Regions from separate parts of the Homo sapiens genome. Here regions 2, 3, 4, 5, 6 and 7 are each linked to region 1. The links are contacts of gene promoters, found by promoter capture Hi-C in blood cells and fetal thymus (Javierre and others, 2016). All regions are on one chromosome and are shown on one strand. Each heading gives the region's core, a stretch centred on a gene start or on the middle of the fragment in contact. The rest is flanking DNA. Distances are from core to core; before and after follow the strand shown.

Region 1 (2,548 bases), core at 36-2,535:
CATAAGAAAGAACTGCAAAGTGTTACAAAACAGGAAATGCCATGTAATATAAAACCCAGCTTACACACACAGATGCACTCAGCATGGAAAAACATACAAGACGAGGAAAGCGAACTAGTTCGACCTCAGATCGTCAACGTCAAATGAATGAAAGATGTTTTGGAAACTCACCAAGTTTTCATTTACTATGCCATCGCTTGCTGCAAAGAAAGCCAGAACATGGGATATAAAATATCTCTCCTCGGGTTTCAGGGATTCCCAGTGCTGAATGTCCTTGGAGAGGTCCACCTGAGGTTCGGAAGTCACAATTTTAGCATAAAAGGAAGAGAGTAAAGCCTACAGGACTCACACTGAGCACTCAAACTTTAAGTATGCTGGCACCACTTACTATGCCCCACAGTTAGCCCCCCTTGCCAACGGGAACCTCCAAGTGCATTTATGTCTGAGGCGTGACGGTCACCCCTGCAGGGGTCTTCTGGGGTCCTCCGATTACCTCCTCGGCGGTCCAAAAGGAAGCCTCTGCCTTCTTATACATCTGCCAGATATCATGGTACTCGATGGGGAAGATGACAAAGCGGCGGGGGTTTTCTCTCAGCAGCGGCTCATCCTCCACGCCGGGGGCAGCTGCTTTAGTTTTCTGTTGGGGGAGAAAATAAAACATTTAAGTACCGGGCGAACCATATGAAACTAACGTTTTTCTGGACCAAGTCCTTTCCATTGGCGGCAATTTCACGGGGCCCGATGTGAAAACGTGGCTGTCCCGTCGCACTCCGTGGGTCGCAGCAGAGGAGCGCACGCCCGAACCGGGAAATGGGCCGAGGGGCGCGGGAGGCAGCCCTGGGGAGGGGCCGCCTAGGCGGGAAAGGAGCCGGGGCGGGAGTGTGAACAGCTGAGGAAACAATGCGGCTTTGGCGCCAAGACGCCCAAGGCCGTCCCTGGCCCCTCTGCCCCACGCCCGCCACTCACCGGCTCCGTGGGCTCCTGGAAGATCCTCCTCGCGGTCTTGCTGGCCAGGACGCGGGTCCCGCTCAGGGCCGGCGGCTGCGGGGAGACGCGTGTGAGTGAGGAGCGGCTTCGCTTTCCCTGCCTCCCTCCCCTGCCCGCAGCGCCCTCCCCGCGGGCTCACCGTGTTCTCCTTGTCGACCAAGCTGAGCCCCTTCAGCGGCGAGAGCTGCAGCTGCTGCGGGTCCGTGATGGGCGCGAGCGGGACACGGAGGGAGAGCATAGTGGAGGCGCAGCGAAGCAGAGCGAGCAGCCAGGACAGGACGGCTGGGACAGGGTGCACGGGCGACCCCTCACTCCAGCAGCCTTTAAATCTCCCGCGCCGCGCGCTCCCGGCCCTTCCCATTGGCTTTGGTGCCCCGGCCCTTCCCATTGGCTGTGCCATGCCTCCGACCCTTCCCATTGGCTGCGCCTTGCCCCTACCCAGGCTGGCCGCGGGGCCGCGCGCGATTTTCAAGCGCAGCGCGGGAGCCTCCGCCGGCGCCTTCCGGAGACCCCCGGGGACACCCCCGTGGACGCCCCCCGGGACCTCCCGGTTCCCCCCCCGGCCCGTCCGCTGGCTGGGTCGGGGGCGCCGCCGCCCAGGCCCCCACAGGTCCCGCGGGACCAGGGCCGCAGCCCCTGAGGGTCTCGGCGGCCTTGGCGCGCGCGGGCCCCGGTTCGCCCGGGAACCGTTTAGGATTGCGTGAGGAGCAGCGATTGGAGCCCGCGGGCGCGAGAGGATCCCCGGGCCGCGGCCCCGCCTCCCGAAAGCACCTCCTCCCAGCCGGGCCGCCGCCGGGCAGGGGGCTTAGCCAACGAGGTTGGTGCAAAGGCCTGGAAAACGCTCCTGGGTGCGGGGGAGGCGTTGCTGCGACCCTTTCGATCCGTGTCCCTGCGGTGGGGGTGCAAGGGCCCCGAGGCCTGACATTTTGGCGGGGTGGTCGGCGAGGACCCTACAGCCTAAAAGTTAGGGCCGCTGAGCCCCGTGGCTCGTTTTGCTGGGACAAGCGACCAGGCTTCTTACAGATTCGGTGTCCCCGTGAGTAAAATGGGACTCGTAACCGCGTGGACTGTTAATGCGGTGAGGAGAGCGTTCGTTGAGATGACTCATGTAAAATGTGCAGTCCTTTGTAAACCTTCAAACTACGGGACATGGCGAGAAGGCCCTTGGTGCAGTTTTCCACAGAAATCCTGTCTCCTGTCAGACCCCTGACCCCTATTGTCACCCTTGCCTTAAGAATTGCAAACTGTGGCTGGGCGCGGTGGCTCACGCCTGTAATCCCAGCACTTTGGGAGGCCAAGGCAGGAGGATTGTTTGAGGCCAGGAGCTGGAGACCATCCTGGGCAACATAGTGAGACCCCGCCTCTGCCATTAAAAAGAGAAGAAAAAAAGTTGTTTTAATTGCAAACTGAGCAAAAATTCCTGGGAGAAAGTTCACAGAATGATTTTAGGACTAGGAATTAATGTACTACTCATTGGGCGTCAAATATGCTGAAGAGGAGTTTGAAAACTCCACTGGTGTAGAGACTGGAACTTAGCAATAGCTTTCATTTAATTTTCTAT
Region 2 (2,548 bases), core at 29-2,528, 490 kb before region 1:
GTCCCTCCCCCAGGTCCCCAGGGTTTGTGGTTGTTTGTTTAGTGACTGTCCTGGACTAATTCTATAAAATCTGATTTCTTTCTAACGTGTGACCACTGAAGTCTCTGCTCGTTGCCGAACTGTCAGCTAATGAATAAACAGAGATTTCCTTCAATGCCCGGAACCAGTCAGTCGCCCAGCCTCTGCCAGAGTGATCCTCATGAATGCCCCTGCTCACCATTGCTCTCTCTATTCAAGCCACACTGGGCTGGTCTTTTTACTGATCCACAAACATGCCAAGCAATTCCAACCTCTAGGCCTTTGTAGTTGTCAGGTAGTCTTGAGGGTCACTCCCTCCTGCCCCTTGGGTCCCTGTCCATCATCTCCCCTTCCCCTCTATTCTTCATTGCCTTCTCTCCTTCAGTTTCCACAGCACCAGTCTCTGTCTGTCATACTCTCCACTGCCTCTCCCTTGTTTGTAGTTTCCCCTTTCTGGAAGGTAAGCTCCTTGAGGGTGGGGATTGTTCTGTGTTTTGTCACTGAGTATCTAGAGAGAAGGGAAAGTGCCTGCCTCTTTGTTGAATAAGTGAATGGGGAGGTAACTCTTTGTTGAATAAGTGAATGGGGAGGTAACTCTTTGTTGAATAAGTGAATGGGGAGGGAGCTTAGGCAACCTGTTCTTATTTAAGAATGAGGGCCAGACGTGGTGTCTCACTCCTGTAATCCCAGCACTTTGGGAGGCCGAGGCCAGTGGATCACTATAGCTCAGGAGTTCAAGACCAGCCTGGGCAACATGGCGAAACTACATCTCTACAAAAGATACAAAAATTAGCTGGGCATGGTGGCACACACCTGTAGTCCCAGCTACTTGAAGGGCTGAGGTGGGAGGATTGCTTGAACCTGGGAGGTTGAGGTGGCGGTGAGCTGAGATCGCACCACTGCACTCTAGTCTGGGTGATAAAGTGAGACCCTGTTTCAAAAAAACAAAAAAAAATGAAGAATGAGGTGCTAAAATGCCAACTGGGGCCAGACACGGTGGCTCATGCCTGTACTCCCAGCACTTTGGGAGGCCAAGGCGGGCGGATCACCTGAGGCCAGGAATTTGAGAATAGCCTGGCCAACATGGTGAAACCCCGTCTCTACTAAAAATACAAAAATTAGCCAGGCGTAGTGGCACACGCCTGTAATCCCAGCTACTTGGCAGGCTGAGGCACAAGAATCCAGGAGGCAGAGGTTGCAGTGAGCCGAGATCGCACCACTGCACTCCAACCTGGGTGACAGAGCAAGACTCTGCCTCAAAAAAAAAAAAAAAAAAAAAAAAAAAAATGCAGGGTGGTGTTGTCCACTGGTAGTTTTCATGTGGACCCTTCAGCTAATGACTCTACCCAGATATCAATATCTTAAAGTCTGTCTTCTGGGACCTTTCATTTACTCCAGAGAAGAATCCCCCAGTTTTGTTCTGAGGTGTTAGGGGTTTGGGCTGGTAGAGTGGACGCACAGCAGCATAGGCTTGACTTTGGCATTCCAGGGGCTGGGAAAAGGAGGCGAGGGTCCCACAGTTTGATGTCTAGACTGCCATTAATTGTCCTGACTTTAGCCCCACAGCTCAAGTCACCTGTGCCTGGTGGCATACTCCCCACCCACCCCGCACATAGGGCAGCTTTGGTTCCCCTCCTCCAGAGAATTATCTTCTGGTCTCTTTAGGCATGGTGGGGATTTGGGTGTTCATCAGCTCCATTGTTCCCCCTTTATTCGGGCCTGTGCCTCATCCTGTCGTCCCCCATGCTTAGAGCCTTGAAGTTCTTGTCCCAAGGATTCTGAGAGAGGAATCTTTTCTCTTTGCTGTTCACCTCTGTAAGCTCTCATGTTTACCCGGTTAAGTTTCTTAAATTACTGCATCTTCTTCTTCAGTTCTTTTTGTCCTTAAAGGTTAATACCTTTTAAAAGTTATTTACTGTCATTTTAAAAAGGCTTGACAGCGATGGGGGTACCACTATTAACCAAAAGCTCTCTGTGTTTCTTAACATCAGTTTTAATTTGGTGTTTAAATGTTTGCTTGGGGCGTCCTGTCTCTGCTAGCCCTTGACTGAAGGCACTCTGTCATGTGTATCTCTACTCATAGTGTCACAAAAATTGACTATTGCTTGATGGGCTATTAGTGAGATAGTGGCTTAAGGAATCTTAACAATTTTTTTTTAACTTGGCCTTATTTTTCTTGTTATTTCATTTCAGTCCCTAAATTATCTTTTCAAATATTAAGTCATGGCAGGTAATAGTTTTTCTTTTTTAAAAATAAATCTTTTAAAATGTTGAAATTAAATTGCTTCTTTGCTAATCTGATTTTTAAGAACAAAACACTACAAGTAGAGTACATTTAAATGACTCATAATTACTCACACAAATGCATGTAAACTTGGATATGCAATTAGGCAGCTCATTATGCTGCAAATGCAATTACATGCTTAAGGTCATGGCCACTCCCTCTGGCTCACCCAGTGTTCTCTTGGGTTTATGATCATTTATTAAGCCTCAGCTGTCAGAATTTGAAAATACATGCTGCTGCTCCTAG
Region 3 (2,548 bases), core at 21-2,520, 420 kb before region 1:
CAGCCACAAATGGGGTCCTCAGCCGACCTACACTTCTGCCCAGCTGACTTCGAATTCAGGAGTCCCCACCCCCAACCCTCAGGTTCGCTAATTCGCCAGAACGCCTCTCTGAACTAAGGGAAGTGTTCCCCTTGCCATTCCAGTTTATACAGGATACAAACAAGCCGTCCAGTGAAGAGGCACATGGAGAGTGCCAGAAGGGGCCAAGTCATGGCAGCCTGCGTCCCGGTGGAGCTGGGACGTGCTGCCCTGTTGGCGTGCGGATGCGTTCACTAACTTGGAATCTCCTCGAACCCCATCACTTAGGGGTTTTCAGCGGAGGCTTCACTATGCAGGCAAGACAGAGGAAGTCACTGGCCATTAGTGACAACTCACTCTCCAGCCCCTCTCTCCTTCCTGGAGGTGGGGGGTGGGGTGCTGAAAGTTCCAACCGAGGCTTGGTCTTGCTGGTGTCCAGCCCCACCCGGAAACTGTCTCAGTGCCCCATTTCCCCAAGACCCATCATTCATTAGCGTAAAGAAGACAGTTCAGTCACTCAAGAGAGTCCAAGTGTTTGAGGAGTTCTGTGTCAGGAGCCGGAGACAAAGATCAGAATTTTTGTTAAACCACACCTGTTGTTCACTGGGGCTTGTATGTTAGGATTATTTTCAATTTTAGGACTTTTTTTCTTTTTTGCTATGTTTTTTTTTGAAGCACTTCTCCATTTTAGAACAGTTACTTTGATTAAAATCTGATAATATAATCTATATATCCATAATGAATCCACCTAACTGGGCAAATGTTTCATGATCCTAAGAAGAGACAAATATGGGCAAGAGCACCTCTGTATTTTTTCTTTTTTAACAGGGTCTCACTCTGTCACCTAGGCTAGAGTGTAGTGGTAAGATCATGGCTCACTGTAGCCTCCGCCTCCTGGGCTCAGTGATCCTCCTGCCTCAGCCTCCCAAGTAGCTGGGACTATAGCACATGCTACCACACCTGGGTAATTAATTTTTTTTTTTTTTTTTTTTTTGTAGAAATGGGAGTCTTGCCATGTTGCTCAGGCTGGTCTGAAACTCCTGGGCTCAAGCAATCCTCCCACCTTGGCCTCCCAAAATGTTGGGACTACAAGTGTGAGGCAATGCACCCAGTCTCCCCTGTATTTTGTGTGCAGAAGTAACCTTCTGACTTACCTGCCAAGCAGGGACTAGTACCAATCTGAGTGATAAATATTTGTCAATCTTACTCTCTTAGGAAACAGAGTCATCAACATTTCTTGAGGTAGGGTGACTCATTCTTCCATGCATCCCACAGACATGCGTCAAGAGCTTACTGGGTTCTAGGAGGTGTGGTGGGTGCTGAAGCCACCAGATTGAATGCTAGGCCCTTGCCAAAACCAGGATAATCCTGGGCACACCGGGACAGCAGCCCCAACTCCATCCTGAGGAATGAAGAAATGATGCCACCCTCCATTCTGAAAAACCACATTCCCCCACGCTCCAGCTCTCCTGCATGCTCCAAACATGCTGCTTACAGGCGTGAGCCACTCAGCCTGGCTCAGCTCTTTTTTGATTGTTTTTGTTTTGAGACGGAGTTTCGCTCTTGTTGCCCAGGCTGGAGTGCAATGTTGTGATCTCGGCTCACTGCAACCTCCGCCTCTCAGGTTCAAGTGATTCTCCTGCCTCAGCCTCCCTAGTAACTGGGATTACAGGCGCCCGCCACCATGCCCGGCTAATTTTTTTGTATTTTTAGCAGAGACAGGTTTTCCCCATGTTGGCCAGGCTGATCTTGAACTCCTGACCTCAGGCAATCCACCCGCCTTGGCCTCTCAAAGTGTTGGGATTACAGGGGTGAGCCACTGCGCCTGGTCCCCAGCTCTGTTTTTAATAGCCAAAGAATAGTCAGACAGGAGGCGACTCTCTATCCAAGTCCCAGGGGATATCGATGCCAAATATAAAATGCCACCCCAACAGCCGACGACGGGGCTGGCGGGCAGGCTCGAGGCCTGGCTCTGCAGCATCGCTCAGTGGGGCAAACACCTGCTCTGGGAGCAGGCCAGGTCCCACATGGGAAGGATGCGTGCAGAAGACGACAGTCATGGGAAACAGAAAGGGCAATCAGGCGTCTGTCTGTGAAACGCAGCACCGGGTAGGTGGCTCTGTGTGGCTCTGGAAACTTGGAATATCATAGCGCCCTTTGTGTGCTCAGATGGTGGTTTCTCAAAGCACTCACCAGAAAGCCCACATCCTTCCGCTGAGGTTTAAGGTCCAGGGAGAGTGTTCCTGGTACCGAGTACCATAACCCAGGTTTTATGTGCGACTTCCCCCTGCATCTGTCTGCCAGGCGCCACCGGCCTCTAGTGCACCATGGTGGGGAGCAAAGCCCTTCCATCTCTGAGCTGCTCTGATGTCCACACCAGTCTTAATCTCAGTAGCCCTAAGCCACTGGTGTTGGTTTTGTACTCTGGGGTTTCATTCTAGAAGCCAGATCCTCCTTTTTTTTTTTTTTTTTTTGAGACAGAGTCTCACTCTCTCCCCCAGGCTGGAGTGCAGTGGCGCCATCTTGGCTC
Region 4 (2,548 bases), core at 21-2,520, 390 kb before region 1:
GTGGTGTGTGGTGTATATGTGTGTGGTGTGTGTGTGCACGTGTGGTGTGTGTTCTGTCAGGAAACCTGTCCTTCCACTTTGAAGCCCACTTTCTGGAGGCTCCCAACAAGGCAGGCTTTTTCTGTATGTTGACTTTGTGCTGCTTTGCTGGAAAGTGGGCAGTGGGCACAGCAAGCTCCAAGCTCATGGCTCTGGGTTGCTTTCCACAGCCAGTCTCCCCTCTGCCTTTCCAGCATGCTCCTGACTGTGTCCAGTGTCCAAGGGGAGCACCGCGAATGGTCTGAACTGACCGTGACAGTCTGATTCCATTTTGCCACCTGTTCCTCAAGCCTTCCCACAGCCGGCAACAGGCATGTGACTGAGTCTTGGACAATGAGATACATTGTGAGGGGTCTGCTGGGAGGCCTTTGGGGAACCATTGGCCTCCCTATAAAAGGGACAGATGTGACTGGTGCTCTTTCCTCTTTTTCCTGTCTTAAACATGGACATAATGCCTAACATTATGGTGGCCATTATGTAACTATGAGGCGATAAGCATGAGGAAGCGTTAGAATCCCAGATAAGAAACATGCAAAGAGCTTTGACCCTCCCCTGCCCGCTAGGGCATTCCTGAGCAGGTGAACCAATACCACCAACTGTCTATCTTTAGACTTCTTGTTATGTAAGAAAAATAAGCTTCTATTTGTCACATTGCTACTACTTGTAGTGGAAAGCATTCCTAACTGATTCATCCTGTACATTTAAAACCGCTAAAATTCTCGAAAGTTGGTTTTGTAGTTTTTATGGCTTCAGGTTGTTTAACCTGAGCAAGAACCAACCATATCTGATGTAGCAAGAAGAATGTCATGTTTCATTTCAAGGAGACTTGTCTCCTTCCACAATTTTCCAAGATTTAGTGCACTGCCAATAGATTAATCACTGTGCTTAGAAGAAAATTCACCTGTCAGAATTTCAAGCCGAGAATCAGAATCCCAATCCCAGAATCCATGTAAGGCTGAGAACCAACCAGAAGATCTTTAGCCCATTATGCTAGAACTCTAAAGGGTTACACACCCAGGATTAGCATGAACCCGAAGTAAATTTTTGCATTCTCTCCCTCAAACCCCCCTTTAGAAATAACAAGGAAATGTTTCTTGGCACTGAGGAGAGCGGGAGAAAAGCTCATCTCTGTGAAGCTGTATCCAAACACTGACCCTTGTGCAGACTGGTACCCAAATTCACACCCCCTGAATGGCCCAGAAATTTTCCAGGAACAAATTCAGATGAAGGTGATCTTGGAGTGGAAGTGTCCCTAGGTGCATGGCAGATGCAAGTGCAAATTCTTTCAGGCAGATGTCACATTCATCCGAGATCTCAAAGAATTATCATCAAGTAATATCTCAAGAAAGTAAGCAGGCTGGCCATGGTGGCTTATGCCTGTAATCCTAGCATTTCGGGAGGCCGAGGCGGGTGGATCACGAGGTCAAGAGATTGAGACCATCCTGGCCAACATGGTGAAGCCCCCGTCTCTACTAAAAATACAAAAATTAGCTGGGTGTAGTGGAGCATGCCCGTAGTTTCAGCTACTCGGGAGGCTGAGGCAGGAGAATCGCTTGAACCCAGGAGGCGGAGGTTTCAGTGAGTCAAGATTGCGCCACTGCACTTCAGCCTGGTGATAGAGTGAGACTCCATCTCAAAAAAAAGAAAAAAGAAAAGAAAGCAAGCAGCACTTAGTGAAAAATAAGGAAGCACACAAGGAAATAAGGCAACATGAGCATGAATAAGCAGAAAAAACAAACAGCTAAACTACTCCCAAATATTTCATATAATGAAATAATAGGAAAGAAATTATACAATTGTTATGTTGAAAAAACAATACAAGCTTAAAGATATTTGCAGGAAACAGAGAACTATGAAAAAACTGATTTGGCAGGTTTTTCGAAAATCAAATAGATCTTTCTTATAAAAATGAAAAATATAATAACTGAAACTTTAAATTTAATAGGTGGATTTAATAGGAAATTAGATATAGGCAAAGAGAGAATTAGTGAACTGGAAGATGGGTCAGAAAAAATTATCCAAATGATAGCACAGAACAACAGAAAGATGAAAATCATGAAAAAGAGGAGGATAGAGTGAGAAGGTCTAAATACATTTAGGGGGTATTCCAGAAGGAGAAGCAAGGGAGATGGGGGCAAAATTATTATTTAAAGAGATAATGTCTGATAATTTTTTGGAATGAACCAAAAGATGTCAATCCATACATTAAAGAAGCTCAACAAATGCCAAGGACAAAAAATAAAAATAAAAGTGAAAAAAATGTTCGAACTGAGTGGCTATCACAAATCTGTCTCTTACTGGCAGGGTGACCCAATGGTGTGTCCAAGGGGCTGATATTACTCATCCAATCCTGGAACATGGAGCTCTGAGCTCTTGCAGGGGATGAGCAAAGCAAGTATAAGTGCAATAATGGGCTCTGTGAGGCCCACTCCTTCTGGCCTGATCTAGGTCTGTTGGTACCATAAACAGAATGATGGTGGAGGTACCAGCGCATTTTTAACCTCCTTCT
Region 5 (2,548 bases), core at 34-2,533, 370 kb before region 1:
CAGTGGAGGGACCAAGGAAGTGCTCAGAAATATTTGGGGTTTTTTTGTTTGTTTTTCTTGTTTTGAGATGGAGTCTCTCTTGGTTGCCCAGGCTGGAGTACAGTGGCAAGATCTCGGCTCACTGCAACCTCTGCTTCCGGAATTCAAGTGATTCTCCTGCCTCAGCCTCCTGAATAGCTGGGATTACAAGCATGTGCCACCACGCCCGGTTAAGTTTTGTATGTTTGGTAGAGATGAGGTTTCACCATGTTGGCCAGGCTGGTCCCGAACTCCTGACCTCAAGTGATTCTCCCACCTCAGCCTCCCAAAGTGCTGGGATTACACTCATGAGCCACCATGCCTGGCCAGAAGTGCTTAGAAATATTTGAATGAATGGATGAATGAATGAATGATGCCCATCTTACTGGGCTGTCATGAGACTTAACACTGCACCTGCGACCCCATAGGTACTCAACAAAGGATCACTTTCTCATTTTACCTCCTTCTCCTTCTTAGGTCAAAAGAAGCAACTCCTGCTGCATTTGCCCTTCCTCAGGCACTGGGGACCTGGGTCTGTCTTGAATTTCCTTCTCTCTCTACACCAAGCTCTATGCCAGGAGCATCCACTGCAGTACACGCGCCCCCCACTCGTCCCCCCTAGGTCCAAGGTGAAGATGAAGGGCAGGTGACTGCGCGTGGAGGTCGAGGAGTGGCTGGTGGGCCTCTGGACCTGGCCGGCTGTCTTGGCCGTGGGCTGGGGGAGGAGCTGTGCTGTCTCCATGCCCCTCCCGCAGCAGAGGCGATTCAAAGCCATGACAGAGGAGGAGAGTGAGTCGCCTGCCACCCAGCAGCTGCAGCAGGCCTGTTACATCACAGCCCACACACCCGGCTGCCTGTCACCCACCCAGACAACGCCCCGGCCCGGCCCCGGCACGGCCCGTGTGCGCGGTGACTCATTGTTGCCGCCTCTTCCAAACAGCTGGCGGGCCCTGTCTTGCCGTGGCCGGCTGGCACCTTGGGCTCCTGTTCTTAGCAGGATCATTGCAGGGAATGTGGTGTGCACAGCCTCACCGTCTCCCAAAGTGAGGTGGCCCAGGGTGCTCGGCATCCACGGGCTCCTACGACCAGCGCCAGGTGCCCAAGATCAGCCTCAGACCGTCACTGGTTAAATGACACCTGCGGGCCGTGCAGTTAAACAGCTCTGCCACCTACTAGCAGAGACTCTGGACACATTTCCTAGTGTCTGAGCCTCAGTTTTAGCTGCTGTAAAATGGGAATAATAATGACACCTACTTCTGGCAGTGTCTTAAGATAATGCTTATGAAGCCCTCAGTGCCACATGCTTGATGCAGAATAAGAAATTAATAATAAAATAGTGCAATCGCTTTCGTAATGTTGGACTGTTCTATGTTTTTATTTATTTCTTTCTTATTTAGTAGAGACAGGGTCTCACTACATTGTCCTAGCTGATCTCGAACTCCCGGGTTCAAGTGATCCTCCTGCCTCAGCCTCCCAAAGTGCTGGGATTACAGGTGTGAGCTACCACACCCAGCCCTGTTCTTTTCATTTACTAGTGGTCAAAGCCACTGCCAATGCTCTTTGCAATGATACATGGCAGCATGGAGAAGAGAAAGAAACAGCATAATCTTTGAAGTATAAACATACTAAATGAGTTGAGGATCACCGGTTGGGGGATTACTGGTGGGAAAGATGAAACAAAAGTGGCAAAGCGTGAAGGTTATTAAAGCTGGGTGGGAAGCATGCGGGTTCATTATACTATTTGCTCTTTGTTTGTGTTTACTGTTTACGTTGTGTACGTTTGACATTTCCATAACAAAACAGTTAAATAAAATCATGGTGTCTGCGAGGCAGACCGATTGACTCTGGACATGCCCTCACTCACTGGCCAAAGTGGGGCAGGTTTCACAGCAATCTTAATGAGGACTTATTCTCTGCCAGGCTGGGAAATCAAAACTGAGGGCAAGGGGGGGCCCAGCCCTGCACAATGCTTCCGGTTCAATGTGAGGGGGATGCATAACATCTCTTTTGGAGATAAGCTCAAAAGAGGGGTCTTCCGAGAGGGAGGGTGTCTGCATGGTCTGAAGCCAAGGTCAGGGCAGGCAAGCATAGAGGCAGGAGGGACATTTCAGAGTGGAGCCCCCTGGCACTTGCACACGGCCTGAGAAGTTCTGGACTCAGGGTGCCGTGTGACGCCAGAGGTGGCAGATGACAAAGGTGGGTGGGTGGCAGGTGGCAGGTAGCAGGTGGTAGTAATGCCAGCCTATGTAGCTAGGCATTCACTTGGGGGCTGAGAAAGAGCCCCAGGAGGCTCAAACAGGTGACAGAATGGCTTGCGGTCAGACTCGTGCTTTAGTAAGTTCATTTTGTCGGGCGCGGTGGCTCACGCCTATAATCCCAGCACTTTGGGAGGCCGAGGCAGGTGGATTGCCTGAGGTCAGGAGTTTGACCGGCCTGGCCAACACGGTGAAACCCTGTTTCTACTAAAAAAAAATACAAAAATTAGCTGGGCGTGGTGGCAGGTGCCTGTAATCCCAGCTGCTCAGGAGGC
Region 6 (2,548 bases), core at 25-2,524, 360 kb before region 1:
GCTGAACACATGGGGGGCGTTAGAGGGCGGGGCGTGTGCCCACAGAGGGCATGGAAGCTCCACACCTCTTCCCACAGGCGTGTGTCACGCATCCTTTCCCTCTGGCTGCTCACCTGTATCACCTGTGACACCCTTTATAATAAATCAGTAAATGTAAGCATTTCCCTGAGATCTGTGAGCCATCCTAGCAAATTAGTCAAACCTGAGGAGGGGGACTGTGGAACCCCCAATGTACAGCCAGTCAGTCAGGAACACGAGTCATACACCAGGGCTTGTGATTGGCGTCTGAAGAGGGGACAGCCTTGTGGGACGGAGCCCTTCGCCTGTGGGATCCGACGCTACCTCCAGGCGACAGTGTCAGAACTGAGTGGCATTATAGAAACCCAGTTGGGGTCTGTTGAAGAATTGCTTGGTGTGTGGGAAAAAAAAAACTCACACATCTGGTGTCAGAAGAGTGGTGTTGAGTGTATAAGAAAGGCACTTCAGGTTTCCTATCCTTACATCCTCCCTCATATGAGTGATGGAATACCGTGTTCCACTACCTGCCCTGGCACAAGCCCTTTCCTGGAGAGCTTCCCCATAATGCCTCCTGCCCAAAGTGCCCACCGGCATCAGGTAGCTCATCACGGCAGCTGAGCTGGGCCAACTGGGTTCAGGGTGCGTGTCAGTCAAGGAGACCCAAGGGCCAGTCATTTGGTAATGGTGAGCTCTTGCGCTGAATGGCCACGTGGAGTTAGGGCTGAGGCAGCAAGATTGCTGAGAGTGGCCTAAGAGAAGGGGCAGTGGTGCTGTTGACAGCCACCATGCATCCCCGGAGAGAGACAAAGAGAATGGCTCCGTAACCCCGCCAGCTCCCCAGCCCCCAGCTTCAGTTCCATGACTGGGCTTTGTTCCTATGAGCTTGCCCTGTGCCCCAGTTATCTATTGGTAGGTTACAAATACTCCCAAAACTCAGTGGCTTCCGACAGTTGTCATGTTCACTCATGATTCTGTGTGTTAGTGATGTGAGCTGGGCTCAGTGGCATCTTCCTTCTGGGCTGAGCTGAACTTGGCTGCTCTAGGCTTGGCGTCACTCACCTGTTTGGGGTCTGCGTCTATGTGGTCTCTCATCCTCCAACAGGGGGGCTGGAAGGAAAGGGAGGAGCTCACCTGTGCACAAAAGCATCAGATCAATAAGGGCCAGGCAAGTCAACAACTCAGGCCACAGGTCACAGGTCTTCAGTGAGCTGGGGAAGACTGCATGGGATGAGTGTGTTGTGCCCAGGAGCCCTTGTCCCTCTTCCTATTTGGGCTAATGATTGACAACCTGACTTCCGTGCCCAGGGTGGTCAAGATTCCCCTGTGACCCCTGGAGAGTGAAGGGCCATGTGCCTCTGATGTGTCCCTCCTCAAAGAGGCACAGATCTTTTCTGGTGCTGAATAACAGCAGTACCAATGAAGATGCAGGCCTGGTGTGGGGGTTCCCACTGAAGATCCCAGCACTTCAAGAGGCCAAGGTGGGAGAATCACTAGAGGCCAGGAGACCAGCCTGGGCAACATAGTGAGACCCTGTCTCAAGAATGAACAAACCAAAGAAAGAAGGAAAGAAAAGAAGGAAGGGACAGAAAGAAAATAAATTAGCCAGGCATGGAGGATTACTAGAGACTAGGAGACTAGGCTGGGCAACACAGTGAGACCCTGTCTCTACAAAAGAAAGAAAGAGAGAAAGAGAGAGAGAGAAAGAAAGAAAGGGAGAAAGAGAGAGAGGGAGGGAGGGTGGAGGGAGGGAAAGAGAGAGAGAAGGAAGGAAGGAAGGAGAGAGAGAAAAAGAAAGAAAGAGAGAGAGAGAGAAAAGACAGAAAGAGAGAAGGAGAAAAAGAAAGAAAGAGAGAGGAAGAGAGAAAGAAATAAAGGTAGAAAAAGAAAGAGAAGGAAAGAAGGAGAAAGAGAAAAAAAGAAAGAGAAAGAGAGATAAAGAGAGAAAGAAAGAAAGAGAAAGAGATAAAGAAAGGACGGAAGGAAGGAGAGAGAAAGAAAGAGAGAAAGAGAGAGAAAGGAAGAAAGGAAGGAAGGAAGGAGAGAAAAAGAGAGAAAAGAAAGAGAGAAAGAAAGAAAGAGATGGAAGGAAAGAGAAAGAAAGAGAAAGAAAGGAGAGAGAGAGAAAAGAAAGGGAGAAAGAAAGAGGAAGAAAGGAAGGAAGGAAGAAAGGAAGGAGAGAGAGAGAAAGAAAAAGAAAGAAACGGAGAAAGGAAGAAAAGAGGGAGAAAGAGAGAGAAAGGAAGGAAGGAGAAAGAGAAAGAAAGAGAGAGGGAGGGAGGGAAGGAAGAAAGGAAGGAAGGAAAGAGAGAGAAAGAGGAAGGAAGGAAGGAAGGGAGGGAGGGAAAAAGAAGAGAAGAGAAGAGAAAAGAAAAGAAAAGAAAAGAAAAGAAAACTAGCCAGGCATGATAGCATGCACCTATAGTCTCAGCTATTCAGGAGGCTGAGGTGGGAGTATTGTTTGAGCCCAGGAGTTCAAGGTTTCAGTGAGCTATGATCACACCACTGCACTTCAGCCTGAGTGACAGAATGA
Region 7 (2,548 bases), core at 22-2,521, 320 kb before region 1:
GTGCAGAGTCTGGGGGTGCCTCCAGAGAGGATTATCTATGCAAATCCTTGTAAACAAGTATCTCAAATTAAGTATGCTGCTAATAATGGAGTCCAGATGATGACTTTTGATAGTGAAGTTGAGTTGATGAAAGTTGCCAGAGCACATCCCAAAGCAAAGTGAGTTATTCCCCCATCTGAGGGCAAGATCGGGAGCATAAGATATGTGGATTCTTATCAAACAAACTTAAATTTCTGATTATTATATTTCTATACTTTAGTAGAAAGTAGTTGAAACCCCCATTGAGTCATGAAGCCTGGGACTCAAACTACAGAATATATCAGCGACAGTATTTAGAACAGGATTGTTTTTATTTTAATTGTGGCTATAAGTGAACATCTATCATGAGACATTTGCTGCACTTTCCTTGCTTGTAGGTTGGTTTTGCGGATTGCCACTGATGATTCCAAAGCAGTCTGTCGTCTCAGTGTGAAATTCGGTGCCACGCTCAGAACCAGCAGGCTCCTTTTGGAACGGGCGAAAGAGCTAAATATCGATGTTGTTGGTGTCAGGTGAGATTTTGGTGGGATAGCTAGAGGTCAAGACATTGAACAGTTTGAGTTTTACAGGCTTTCTCCTAGTGTTTGCTATTATTTTAAGAAATACTAAGACACAGTGTCTCGTCTCTTTATTTTACCCCAGCTTCCATGTAGGAAGCGGCTGTACCGATCCTGAGACCTTCGTGCAGGCAATCTCTGATGCCCGCTGTGTTTTTGACATGGGGGTGAGTATACGTGACCCTGTTAGGGAAGGGCGGGACACAACTGACAATAACTAGTCTTAATTCTAGAGTTAACTTTTTATGGCAGTTGGTTCTGTATTACATGGGTTTCAGCCTATCTGCTGCATACATTTTTGTTATTAGCTGTGGATCTGGCTGACTTATTTTCTTGATTCTAGGCTGAGGTTGGTTTCAGCATGTATCTGCTTGATATTGGCGGTGGCTTTCCTGGATCTGAGGATGTGAAACTTAAATTTGAAGAGGTAATTTAGAACAAAACTGTAATACTCAGTAGCCGTTCTAATAAATTCCTTTTTGGAATATTTCAAAATTTAAGTGTCTTAACTAATACCACAATGGGCTGAAGTGTCTTGGTGTGATATTTTGAGTGATTTCTTTGTGCTGTCTGACATTACACTTGATACCATTTGGTTTTCTAAAGTGTGAATCAGCTTTCCCAGAAGTCTTGGATAATTGGTTACATTGGAAATCATGGCTCACACCTGTAATCCAGCACTTGGGGAGGCCAAGGTGGTAGGATCACTTGAGCCCAGGAGTTTGAGACCAGCCTGGGCAACACAGTGAGACCCCATCTCTACAAAAAAAATTTTAAAATTAGCCTGGTGTGGTGGCGGGCACCTGTAATCCCAGCTACTTGGAAGGCTGAGGTGGGAGGATCACTTGAGCCCAGGAGGTTGAGGCTGCAGTGAGCCATGATCATGCCACTGCACTCAGCCTGGGCTACAGAGTGAGACCCTGTCTCAAAAAAAAAAAAGAAAAAGCATGTTGCTGTGGGCTTCCTAGAGAATATGCTGACTGTAGCACATCATCACCCCAAATGTGCTTTGCTAGACCTATGCTTCCTCTCCTTAAAATACTTGAAATGTTTAGTCACTTAGGAAGTTAAGCCATTATATTGGTGCTTGAATTTATAAAATATATCCACATGGTTTGTTAAAATCATGACGTAGGCAGAATAGGATTTTTATCCTGTTGGCATGTATTTGTTAAAATGTTTTGACATCTTGATGCCTTCCTAGGTAGTAGTTAGTTGCGTACTGTTCTTTGATAAAAATCATACCCATAACATCCTAAAGGAGATAGGGTGCCTGGAGGGGAATGAAAACGAGCCACCTGGGATATGTAGCCTGGTTTTCAGGGAGATGTTGATGTTTTTTTGCTTTTGTTACTTTAATGATAAACCTGTCTGTTGATGCCTGGTCTCATGATGTCATGTCACAAGGCCCTGTGATGTTACTCCCCCATGTGAATTTCCCACAATGAAGGCTGCTCTTTCTTTTCTGTTTCACTCTCTTAGATCACCGGCGTAATCAACCCAGCGTTGGACAAATACTTTCCGTCAGACTCTGGAGTGAGAATCATAGCTGAGCCCGGCAGATACTATGTTGCATCAGCTTTCACGCTTGCAGTTAATATCATTGCCAAGAAAATTGTATTAAAGGAACAGACGGGCTCTGATGGTATGTATAAAGGACGAATCACTTCATGTATAACTGAAAGCTGATGCAAAAAGTCATTAAGATTGTTGATCTGCCTTTCTAGACGAAGATGAGTCGAGTGAGCAGACCTTTATGTATTATGTGAATGATGGCGTCTATGGATCATTTAATTGCATACTCTATGACCACGCACATGTAAAGCCCCTTCTGCAAAAGGTAATTTCTGAGCATACTGTATAAAACAATTAAGAGGACTGGTCACAACACGTGTAATTAAGTAGTACTTCCTCTCTCCGTCTCTTTATATAGAGACCTAAACCAGATGAGA

Evidence for each region. The method cuts DNA at HindIII sites, captures the fragments that hold promoters and counts their contacts. A CHiCAGO score of 5 or more calls a contact.
Region 2: a fragment that was not itself captured here is called in contact with the fragment with the promoter of RRM2 in region 1 in 7 of 17 cell types (endothelial precursors, naive B cells, total CD8 T cells and 4 more); the score reaches 8.9 in endothelial precursors.
Region 3: a fragment that was not itself captured here is called in contact with the fragment with the promoter of RRM2 in region 1 in 2 of 17 cell types (total CD8 T cells and naive CD8 T cells); the score reaches 6.5 in total CD8 T cells.
Region 4: a fragment that was not itself captured here is called in contact with the fragment with the promoter of RRM2 in region 1 in 3 of 17 cell types (naive B cells, naive CD8 T cells and total B cells); the score reaches 5.7 in naive B cells.
Region 5: a fragment that was not itself captured here is called in contact with the fragment with the promoter of RRM2 in region 1 in 1 of 17 cell types (naive CD8 T cells); the score reaches 6.0 in naive CD8 T cells.
Region 6: a fragment that was not itself captured here is called in contact with the fragment with the promoter of RRM2 in region 1 in 1 of 17 cell types (fetal thymus); the score reaches 7.2 in fetal thymus.
Region 7: a contact is called between a fragment that was not itself captured here and the fragment with the promoter of RRM2 in region 1, in 17 of 17 cell types (naive B cells, total B cells, non-activated CD4 T cells and 14 more). The highest score is 34.2, in naive B cells.

What each region holds. Positions count from the first base shown.
Region 1 is chr2:10,121,476-10,124,023 of GRCh38, reverse strand. RRM2 (ribonucleotide reductase regulatory subunit M2) reads right to left here and starts at 1,285. Exons shown (of 10, transcript NM_001034.4): 1 at 1,127-1,285; 2 at 967-1,041; 3 at 494-637; 4 at 172-288. The coding sequence starts at 1,225. RefSeq lists silencers at 1,324-1,824, 1,231-1,830 and enhancers at 2,051-2,160, 2,181-2,250, 2,008-2,548. The HindIII fragment of the contact is 3,317 bases long and covers 1-2,548 here.
Region 2 is chr2:10,614,975-10,617,522 of GRCh38, reverse strand. All of the region lies in intron 13 of NOL10 (nucleolar protein 10), which reads left to right. Among named protein-coding and RNA genes, the nearest start is that of NOL10, 74 kb to the left of the region's middle. The HindIII fragment of the contact is 5,417 bases long and covers 1-2,548 here.
Region 3 is chr2:10,537,423-10,539,970 of GRCh38, reverse strand. The region is part of intron 2 of LOC105373426 (a long non-coding RNA gene); the gene reads left to right. Among named protein-coding and RNA genes, the nearest start is that of ODC1-DT, 89 kb to the right of the region's middle. RefSeq lists an enhancer at 1-270. The HindIII fragment of the contact is 3,470 bases long and covers 1-2,548 here.
Region 4 is chr2:10,515,594-10,518,141 of GRCh38, reverse strand. No RefSeq gene overlaps it. Among named protein-coding and RNA genes, the nearest start is that of ODC1-DT, 67 kb to the right of the region's middle. The HindIII fragment of the contact is 1,186 bases long and covers 678-1,863 here.
Region 5 is chr2:10,496,383-10,498,930 of GRCh38, reverse strand. No RefSeq gene overlaps it. Among named protein-coding and RNA genes, the nearest start is that of ODC1-DT, 48 kb to the right of the region's middle. RefSeq lists an enhancer at 846-1,378. The HindIII fragment of the contact is 4,692 bases long and covers 1-2,548 here.
Region 6 is chr2:10,480,099-10,482,646 of GRCh38, reverse strand. No RefSeq gene overlaps it. Among named protein-coding and RNA genes, the nearest start is that of ODC1-DT, 32 kb to the right of the region's middle. The HindIII fragment of the contact is 7,342 bases long and covers 1-2,548 here.
Region 7 is chr2:10,441,705-10,444,252 of GRCh38, reverse strand. ODC1 (ornithine decarboxylase 1) reads left to right here. Exons shown (of 12, transcript NM_002539.3): 5 at 1-158; 6 at 417-551; 7 at 682-763; 8 at 940-1,023; 9 at 2,079-2,241; 10 at 2,324-2,436; 11 at 2,530-2,548. Among named protein-coding and RNA genes, the nearest start is that of SNORA80B, 3.9 kb to the left of the region's middle. The HindIII fragment of the contact is 5,104 bases long and covers 1-2,548 here.